Regions from separate parts of the Homo sapiens genome. Here region 1 is linked to region 2. The links are contacts of gene promoters, found by promoter capture Hi-C in blood cells and fetal thymus (Javierre and others, 2016). All regions are on one chromosome and are shown on one strand. Each heading gives the region's core, a stretch centred on a gene start or on the middle of the fragment in contact. The rest is flanking DNA. Distances are from core to core; before and after follow the strand shown. Region 1 overlaps HS2ST1 (heparan sulfate 2-O-sulfotransferase 1). Region 2 holds the start of ODF2L (outer dense fiber of sperm tails 2 like).

What was found. The method cuts DNA at HindIII sites, captures the fragments that hold promoters and counts their contacts. A CHiCAGO score of 5 or more calls a contact.
Region 1: a contact is called between a fragment that was not itself captured here and the fragment with the promoter of ODF2L in region 2, in 4 of 17 cell types (non-activated CD4 T cells, fetal thymus, total CD8 T cells and 1 more). The highest score is 7.5, in non-activated CD4 T cells.

Annotation. Positions count from the first base shown.
Region 1 is chr1:86,916,135-86,921,259 of GRCh38, forward strand. All of the region lies in intron 1 of HS2ST1 (heparan sulfate 2-O-sulfotransferase 1), which reads left to right. Among named protein-coding and RNA genes, the nearest start is that of HS2ST1, 4.1 kb to the left of the region's middle. The HindIII fragment of the contact is 4,042 bases long and covers 1-3,681 here.
Region 2 is chr1:86,392,945-86,398,016 of GRCh38, forward strand. It overlaps ODF2L (outer dense fiber of sperm tails 2 like), which reads right to left and starts at 3,379. Exons shown (of 17, transcript NM_001366781.1): 1 at 3,089-3,379. RefSeq lists an enhancer at 3,304-3,353. The HindIII fragment of the contact is 6,956 bases long and covers 1,163-5,072 here.

The DNA of each region.
Region 1 (5,125 bases), core at 411-2,910, 520 kb after region 2:
TTTGGAAGAGCTCAGCATGGAGAGCGAGAGTTAAAAGAATGACAGTGATAAATTTTGATTTAAAAATGTACATGGCACTTAAAAATCAGCTCAAGAGGATGTAATTTGAATATGGAAAAGTAATGTGAAGTGTTTTTTGCATACTCTCACCTCAAAATCATTTTAAATACCTTTTGAGAAGCCAGCAAAAACAAAAACAAAAAACCCTCAGCAGTGTAATTTAGACTAAGAAATAGATGTTACTGTGAGTGGATGATTAATTTTTAGGAAAAATGTACCAGAAAATAATTGTAATATTATGTATAGTAGCTATTTTGGTACAAGGCTTTGCAAAAGCCTTGACATTTTAAAGAGCCTTGAAAGAAAAACCATCAAGTAAATCTGAGTGAAGTGCAACTAAAGTTGGAGGAAAACTAGAGTTACTTCCAGCCCTCAATTCTAGAGTAAAATTTGAAGAGATACTCAGTTTATTTACGAATTCCTTTATTAATATGTATCTTGTGTGGTGGAAAAAAATGTCCACTTTAAATATTGAAGGTTATCCAGTCTGGTTTTTCTTTTCTTTTGGATCCATTTAGCGACATTCAGGGTCATATTCTGGCGTTATTAATGATCCAGCTCTACAGAAAAAAAGACTCCTCTTGAAGTGGAAAGTTATATTAAAATTAAAATTTGTACTTATTTTTTGTTTTGTTACTATTTGGAATTGTCTGGAGTTGATTTCTTAGACACGTTACAGTGGGTTAGAATGACTTAAATTTTTGATTTTCCTCCTTTCCTAACATTTCTTTCCCCATATACTTGAAAATTGCTTCCATAGACACAATCTGAATGATTTTTAAAAGAAAGTTATCTGAAGATGTATAATGCCACAGTTAAAATATAAAGTGCTTTCTTGTGATACAAGAAAGAAAATTTCATAAAAAGTAGTAAATATGCATCAAAATCCTCCTGGGACTACAGATGGGTATACCTGGGAGTACAGGTGGGTGTTACCATGCCTAGCAGAGGAAACCATATTTTGACAACCATATTCTGTACTAGGCACTTTTCATCGTAGATACTCGTGTTTAAAGTAAGAACACCATTTAAAGCCATTTTTGACCAGACACGGTGGCTCACGCCTGTAATCCCAGCACTTTGGGAGGCCGAGGCCGGCGGATCATTTGAGGTCAGGAGTTCGAGACCAGCCTCGCCAACATGGTGAAACCCTATCTCTACTAAAAATACAAAAATTAGTCGGGCGGGGTGGCGGGCGCCTGTAATCCCACCTACTCAGGAGGCTAAGGCATGAGAACCGCTTGAACCTGGGAGGCAGAGATTGCAGTAAGCCAAGATCACACCACTGCACTCCAGCCTGGGCAATAGAGTGAGACTCAGTCTCAAAAAAAAAAAAACCAAAGAACAACAGAAAGCCATTTTTGCAGATGCAGGAACAGGCTTAGAGAGGTTATATAACTTGCCCAAGACCACATCGCATTTAAGTGGCAGAGCCAGGATTGCAACCCAGGTATGTATGATTCCAAATCAAGTGCTCCTTTAATTATGTCCGGCTGCTTAAGACTTTATATTGACATTACGCTGAGATTTAGGTATTTGAATAGAGTTTTAAAATTGTAATATCAGTGTTTAATTGCATTTATTGCTAAGAATGAATATCATTCAGAGAAAATTGAATTTCTGATACAAAGGAATTGGTTTAATGTAACGTCTGCCCCTTGTTTAGATTCATGTAATGAACATAATTATGTTACCCAATGAAACAACTGAATTAGATAGCTTATTTTTACTATAGGAAAGAAAAATCTAGCTGTTTTCCATACGTGCAAAATCACAATGTTAAAAAAGCATTTTTATTTTGGCATAAAAAACCTATTAAACATTTTGTCCTTAAAAGTAGTTATTATCATTTTCATTGTAGAAGATTCCAAAGGATAGTATTGTCTGATAGTGGCTTTAATATACCTTGATTTGAGAGTACAGTATTTTGATGGTGAGACTTCTAATAGAGCAATAGATGTATTCAAAACTGAGGTGTACTCATTGACTACTTGGGAAATTCACTAATTAGGAATTCCTAAAAAAAAAAATTCAGTAATACAGCTTTTTATTTTTATTTTTTAAAAAACAAATATGGCATTGTAGTCCACATATTACAATGCGGCTTGCTTTTTTTGCCTTGAATGTTATACACATCTTTCCAGGTCAGTACATATAGATGTGACTTACTCATTCTATTAATAATAGCTGTATAATATTCCAAAGTATGCATGTATCATAAATTATTAAGCCATTATTCTAGTAACGGACATTCAGTTTGTCCCCCATCTGTCGTGTGTGTGCGTGTGTATATATACATATATATATAATTTTTTTGAGTGTTTCTTTTCTTTCTTGGTATTATAAACAATTATAGGAAACATCCTTATGTGTCCGTTTAACTCATGTTGATGTCATTTTGTGCTAGGATGAATTCTGTATGTGAGATTGCTGGGACAAAGAATATACATATTTTATAATTTAACAGATTTAAAAATCTACTTTTCAACATTTTTTTGTTTTTCAAAAGATGTAGTAATCTACACTGCCAGCACACATTCATTAGCACTAGAAGATAATCAGCTTTTAATTTTTGCCAGTGTGAAGCTGTGAAATGATATATTCAATTAATTTACCTTCTAATTTCTAGGTAGGTTGAACATCTTTACATGTTTATTGCCCTTTTATTTGTTACTTTTTTCTATTTTTCTATTGGGTGGTTTACTTTTTTTTTTAAATATTAGAATTAGTAATCCTTTATCTATCCTATGTCTTTTTTAAATTTTTTTTATTTTTATTTATTTATTTATTTATTTATTTTTTTGAGATGAGCCTTGCTGTCACCCAGGCTGGAGTGCAGTGGCACGATTTCGGCTCACTCCTGCCTCAGCCTCCCAAGTAGCGGGGATTGCAGGTACGTGCCACCACGCCCAGGTAATTTTTGTATTTTTAGTAGAGACAGGGTTTCACCATGTTGGCCAGGCTGGTCTTGAACTCCTGACCTCAAGTGATCTGCCCCCCTCTGCCTTCCAAAATGCTGGGATTACAGGCATGAGCCACTGCACCCGGCCTCTTATTTGTTTTTGTCCAAGTTTGCCATTTGTTTCTTGACTTTATGGTGTGTTTTGCTCATATAGAAGTTTTAAAATACACACAGTTAAATCTATCAATTTAGGGAAGTCGTTTTCATATTTTGCTTAGGAAGACTTACCCAGAGCCAGGATTGTGTACATTTTCTGTATTTTATTATAGTATTTTATAGTTTATTACATTTGGCTCTTTAAACCATTTGTATGTTTACAGAGATTTATCATGATTTTCTCAGTAAATCATTTTTTCCAACTGTATGTTAACATTCCTTCTTTTAATCACATACTAAGTTTTCATATGTTCTTGGATCAATTTTGGATGCTATTTTCCATTAATCAGAGATTCTTTAAACCTCGGGGACCCATAAATAGGCTTCAAGGTATCAGTGAATTCCCTGAAATTATATACATAACTTTCATCAGATTTGCAAAGGAGTATGTGATTCCTTTAATGGCAAGGATCACAGATTTATAGTAGATGTTTCATATTTAGTGGACTTTTTTTTGTTTTTAGTAACATAACGTGCAGATTGTGAGTTAAATTTAGGAGATAAGCTTATTACCTGTGAAAAAGAGAAGTTTTTCAACTTCAAATGAAGTTAATACTTCATTGTATTAAAATGTAGACTTAATTTTCTAGTGAGAAATGGAAAAGGACAGGGAATCCAAATGAAAACTATTTAACTGTGACTCGTTACTATAAAATGTCAGAATTTGTGGCTGGTAAAAAGTAGTTCTTCCCGAATTTCAAGAGCGCACTTGTTGCTAATATTGACTGGTCGAACAGTGCAGTGAAATATTTTCTCACATAAGTGATAGAACTATGTGCTTGGTAACTTTATTTTCTATAGGGTTTTAGCATTGTAAATAATATTTGTTGACTGTATTCTTACATCTCTATATGGATTTATGAGCACATTAGGAATAATCTTTTACATGGGGAAAATAATTGAGAATGGATTATGTAATCATCCATTGGTGAGAATTAATGTTAGTCATTATGTTCTTAAAACTCTACTAGACTAAACAACTAATTCCAGGGCCAAGGTTGAGACTGCTTTTTGGAATTTGGTAGTTTTTACAAGTAAGTTCCTGAAACCATGCAGCAATACCTGTAAGATGTTCCAGAGAATGCTAGATTTCCTCACTTCTGAAATCATTTGGAAAACCTCATAGTAGCTACTGTTTTGAGGACTTTGGGTTAATAGGAATACAGTTATTCTAGAATTGGTAATTGGTGCCTCACTTAGTCTTGAATAGGATGTCTAGTGCCATGGAGTAGTCACCTGAAATAGTTGATCTCAATTAAGATAATTCCAGGATGTCTGTCCACCACTCTGGTAGGCCTTCTAATAGCTTTTTGGCACTTAGAGAAATTGAAATAATAATGAATGTTCAAAGATTGCTCTCCAGAAGACCATTTTTGAAGGATGTACTTATAGATGAACTTCATAATCATGGTTCACTATAGCCTAGTTATTTTTAAGATCTACCCACCTACCAGTACCTGTACTTACGTATTCTGCCTTTCTGCCTGTTAACAATAGATGGTAACTGTCAGTGCTCCTGTTCGGTCATTTGTGCACCTGATTCTGTTGCCTCACTTACCTAAAGACATGGTTCCCGAAGCTTTCCCTCATTCTCCTGTCACAATGTATTCTTGAAAATTGCTAAGAGAGTGGATTTTAAGTGTTTTCACCATACCAAAAAAAAAAGTATGTGAGGTAATGCATGTTGTCTTAATTAGCTTGATTTAGCCATCCATGATATATACATGTTTTAAAACATGTTGTACATGATAAATATATACAGTTTTGTCAATTACAAATAAAAAAAAACTATCTTGGTAAATGTTCCAGGTGAACGTGAAAAATATGTATTCTGTTGTTATTGGCTGAAGTATGCTGTAGATGTCGGTTGGTAGTATTGTTATGGTGTTTTGTATTCTTGATTTTTTTCTGCCTCTTCATCAGTTATGGAGAGGGGTTTTGAAATCT
Region 2 (5,072 bases), core at 2,129-4,628:
AAAGCTTTTTCCAGGAGTGCTTGTAGGCTATGCTGATCCAGCTACATTCACTAAACTATGTTCCACTGTGGCCAACAGCAAGCATTTGGGGATAACTGCTCAGGGACCATGATGCTAGCCATGGTCAGAGAAAAAGGAAAATCATGGTCCATGACCTTCCTTAACACCTAGATCAGACTAAGTAAATTAACTAACTTCAGATGAATATGTATTTTAAAACAATATCTCTGAAGAGAATAGCATATGAAACCTGCACATTTTGTTTTGCCAAACACAAATTCTTAGAAAACTAACTTCCACTGGCTTCAAACACAGCTTCTACTGAAAAAAGTCACCATGGCATATTCAGCAAGGAACACAAAGTAGATACAGGAATCCTCTTTTTTTCCCCCTACTATTCTGGACACTAGTCAAACGTTTACTAGAGAGGTAATTGTATGAAAAAAAAAAAAAGGATAGGAATCTTGGAAACAGGCAAAAAGCTGGAAAATAAATCTTATGCGTAAAAGCTACCAAAATGGAAAAAACGTTTTCTGATACAGAGAGATTAGATTAGATAACAAATTAGTAATCCCTCTCTCCAATGAAAAAAGAAGGATGTATATTTAAAAGATGGGCTGCAGACTGGATAATATAGGAAGAAGAGTTGACAGCAAGAGTGACTGTTCTGTAAACACGGCATGTACTTCAAAGCCAACATTCCATTTCCTTCTCAAAGTGTTGCCCTGATTTCTCCAGCCCATCAAGAACTCTAAACAAAAGTATTTTCAGAATCATATAGTTTAGAATTTAACTGCTCCATAAATGCTCATATTTTAGTTCTCTTTTAAACTTGCTATTAACTGTGAGGACAAATAATACGCATCACTCTCTGCCCTAAAAAATTACCTAACACAGTGGGGAGCATAGATTAGGTTCTCAAATATAAGTTAGGGTGACTAAATTATTTACTGTTTAAACTCGGACACTTTTGAGTGTCCATATAGAGCCCAATTACCCGGAAAAAGACCTGGCCAAAGATGTTCAGAATATTGTCTAATCCCAAATAAAGTCACCATCCTGTACCAGACAAACATAAAGCATATTCCTTTCCTTCAACACGACAGCTGTTGCCATTTACTGAGCAGAGCACTGACTGACCTTATAAACATCATCTCACAAAAGCTTCACAAGGTTGTTATTAAAAAGCTATAAATAAGTAAATTAAATCTTAGAAGGGTTAAATAGCTTGTCCAAGATTACAAGTAAGGAATTGGTGGAACTCAGTTTTGAATTAAAAGCCATGAGATGGTGAAACCGCATCTCTACTAAAAATACAAAAATTAGCTAGGCGTGGTGGTGGGCACCTGTAGTCCCAGCTACTCGAGAGGCTGAGGCAGGAGAATCACTTGAACCCGGGAGGCGGACGTTGCAGTGAGCCGAGATCGCGCCACTGCACTCCACTGCGGCAGAGCGAGACTCCATCTCAAAAAAAAAAAAAAGCCATGAGATACTAAAACATAAATATAAAAATCTACAAAGCAAAAAGTAACACACAAACTTGCCTTTATTCAGTCAGGTTTTAATACTCATAAGTTCAATTTAGATTCAAAAGATGAAAACTGTTCTGGACAAGGAAATGAGTGATGAATGAGCTAGCTAAAAGCACAGACTACAATTCTAAAGAGAGAGAGCAGACCGCGACCAGATCACTAAATTCCATTGTTCTAAAGTTTGTCACAAGGAACTTTTGGGATAGAAAAACTACACTATAAATACACATCCATTGTGAAATAAGAAGATGAAAAAGAGAAGCAAAAAGCAAATCATAAACATGATCATGACATTCTTACTATAAGCAGAATATCAAACTAATTTCAAAAGCAGACAGGTTTTCTGCAGTTTGTTTCTTTTTCCTTTTTTTTTTTTTTTTTTGAGACAGAGTCTCGCGCTGTCGCCCAGGCTGGAGTGCAGTGGCGCGATCTCGGCTCACGGCAAGCTCCGCCTCCTGGGTTCACGCCATTCTCCTGCCTCAGCCTCCCGAGTAGCTGGGACTACGGGCGCCCGCCACCACGCCCGGATAACTTTTTGTATTTGTTTTAGTAGAGACGGGGTTTCACCGTGTTGGCCAGGATGGTCTCGATCTCCTAACCTCGTGATCCGCCCGCCTCGGCCTCCCAAAGTGCTGGGATTACAGGCGTGAGCCACCGCGCCCGGCCCGGTTTGTTTCTTTAACCTTAACTCAGTTGCACTTAAAACTCCAAGAACCTCATTCATTCAAAAACACTTGAAACCGTACTATGCGTTGCGTGATGAGGAAACTGTCTTCGAAATAGATTTTATCCCCAACAGCAGCCCCAGTATGGTTATTCTCAGTAAACAACAAGCACCACCACTCACTAACCACCTACATTCGGTGCCACCTTAATGGCCCTGCGTTTACTTAATCTCGTATTACAACCACCCCAAAGTGATGATTACTGTTACAGTTATCAGTAAGGAATCCAGGAAGGTTCAGTGACCTAGACAAGGCCACACAGCGGGTTCAGTGGCAGAGCTGGGACTGAACACAAGTCGGCCTTTAGCACTCTCCACGACCCTAGGTCAATCCCGCACTACAGGGGTCGCCTATAGGGGCTGGAACCTAGAGGAATCCTGGAGAAGGAATTATTTCCTGAGGATTCCTGTAATATACCTCACTTACGAAGCCCCCAGGGCTTCCTACAATCTGATATATCACATGATGGGCGATTAAAAACCAGCCCAATGATTAAGAGGTCACTATTTCTGAAAGAAATGCAACCATATCCAGGAACGGCCCGGTCAGGACTTCGTTCTGCACAAGCCCACCTCACGCTAACATTTGCCCTGATGTCCCGGGGACCACACCCTTCCTAAGAGTGAGTCTCGCCGCCCTTTTCCCAGGCCAGGTAGTCAGCCTGAGGGAGGTGGAGGGTTTGCGCGGAGGGGGCTGGGTGGGCGCGAGGGCCTTTTACTTCCGGGACCCACCACTGCCCTCACCTCCAGACCGCTAAGGGCTCCCGCGGTAAACGCCCAGCAGCAGCTAGGCTCCCCACAAAGTCGCCCCCAACCCAAAAGGCGTACTTACGCCCCCGCCGCTGCGTCCGCACGTCGTCGTGACGACAGCCCGCCGTCGCCGCGATATAAAAAAAGGGTCAGAGGCGCCACGGCTGCTGCAATGGAAACCGTGGCAATCCTTCTTGTGCTCTGAGTCGGCTAGGAGGGAGCGGGACGCAGGGGGCACTACAGTGGGTAGACTAGGAAGGAAGGCAAGGGACGCGAGGTGGGAACCAGGCGAATTCCTAGACCTGCTTGCCGCAGAAGAGTGCCCGCTCAAGTGGAACAAAAGCGCAGCTAGTAACCGGCTAGTGGCTTCTCTGGCAACGGCGGCCCCACCCCTCCCGTCAGGCCCGCAGCAGGCTGCCGATTGGTCCGGGTTAGGGACGGCGGGCAGCGCCTATAGCTATTGGAGAGGGTGAGGAACGGGGCAGGGAGGGCAGCTTCGTGTCTATCCTTGTTTCTCGGGTAAACATTTTTTTTTAAGCGTTTGTTTATGGACAAGGACAGCATTTGTGTACGTTACCGAAAATCATAACCGAGCCCAACTAGAAAAAAAGGAAATAAAGCCAATTCCGAGTTTTCTGGCGCTTGGCCTGGTTGTGCCCTGCTTTTGCTTTTTAAAGAGAAGATTTGAAAACGTGAAGGCAACTGCGACCGGAAGAAACCTCCTTTTAAATGTATAGTAGTATTTTTAGCTGAGATGCCTCCCTGGGCCTCAGGTTTTTTCCTGTTAAATGAGGAAGCCTGAGGATGTTCTGCAAGGTGCCTTCAGGGTCTCAAAGTCTTTCGTATCTGTGCCACAGCCAGCTGGTCTGGTTTATAAAGTCCTGAAGAAGCAAAGCAAGATTTTAATTGGAAAAATATCTTCATTCAATGCCTCTACTTAATATTCATGTTAAGAATCGTACACCAACCTATGAAGTTCACAAGTAGAGTAACTGTCAACTAAGCCATAACCGTGGCATGCTGCTACCTAAATAATTGGTTTCACTAAAGCACTCCAGCAATGTTTTTCCACCAGTACTGTAATTGTCCCTTTCATAATTTAAAGCGGGAGACAGAATTAGTAAATTTTTTAGTAAAGGGCCAGTGATATGGTTAGGCTCTGAGTCCCCGACCACATCCCATCTTGAATTGTAATCCCCATAATCCCCACGTGTCAAGAGAGAAACCAGGTGAAGGTAATTGAATCATGGGGGCAGTTCCATAATCCCCACGTGTCAAGAGAGAGACCAGATGAAGGTAATGGAATCATGGGGGCCGTTTACCCCCATGCTAGTGAGTTCTCAAGCTATCTGATGGTTTTGTAAGGGGCTCTTTCCCCTCCACTGGGCACTTCTCCTTAACGAAGAAGGTGTCCTGCTTCCCCTTCACCTTCCGTCATGATTGTAAGTTTCCTGAGGCCTCCCCAGCGACGCTGAACTGTGAGTCAATTAAACCCCTTTCCTTTATAAATTACCCAGTCTCAGGCAATTCTTTATAGCAGTATGAAAATGTGCTCATACAGCCAGATAATATTTTATTAATAGGTTTTGCAGGTCATATGGTCTCTGTGATACTATTTAACTCTGCCATTGTCTTACCAAGAAAAGCCATAGATGATACATAAACATAAACATATGAGCTCACTAAAGTACGTTTGTGTGCAGGATGCAACACTACAGTGTTGGGTAGAAATTGTGATTTCTATCTTCATGGCAACAAATGGGGACTAGAATGTAAAAATAGCAGGCAATGAAATAGAATAAAGATACTTGAATACAAATAATACTTCAAAATTAAAAAGCAACATTTTAGATAACCTGTTTGCAGAGGACAAACAGAAGGTTAAATGAAAGTGTGATGGAGAATCACCACCTTTACATCTTTGCACTCTTTAATAGTGCCACTAATCACTGGAATTCCCCTAGGACTATGGTATTGCCTTTGGTTTAATCTTTTAGTAGATAAGGGCAGTTCCAAAGGCTTCCACTTTGTCTTCCTATTATAATAGCCATGAGTCAAAAAGCCAA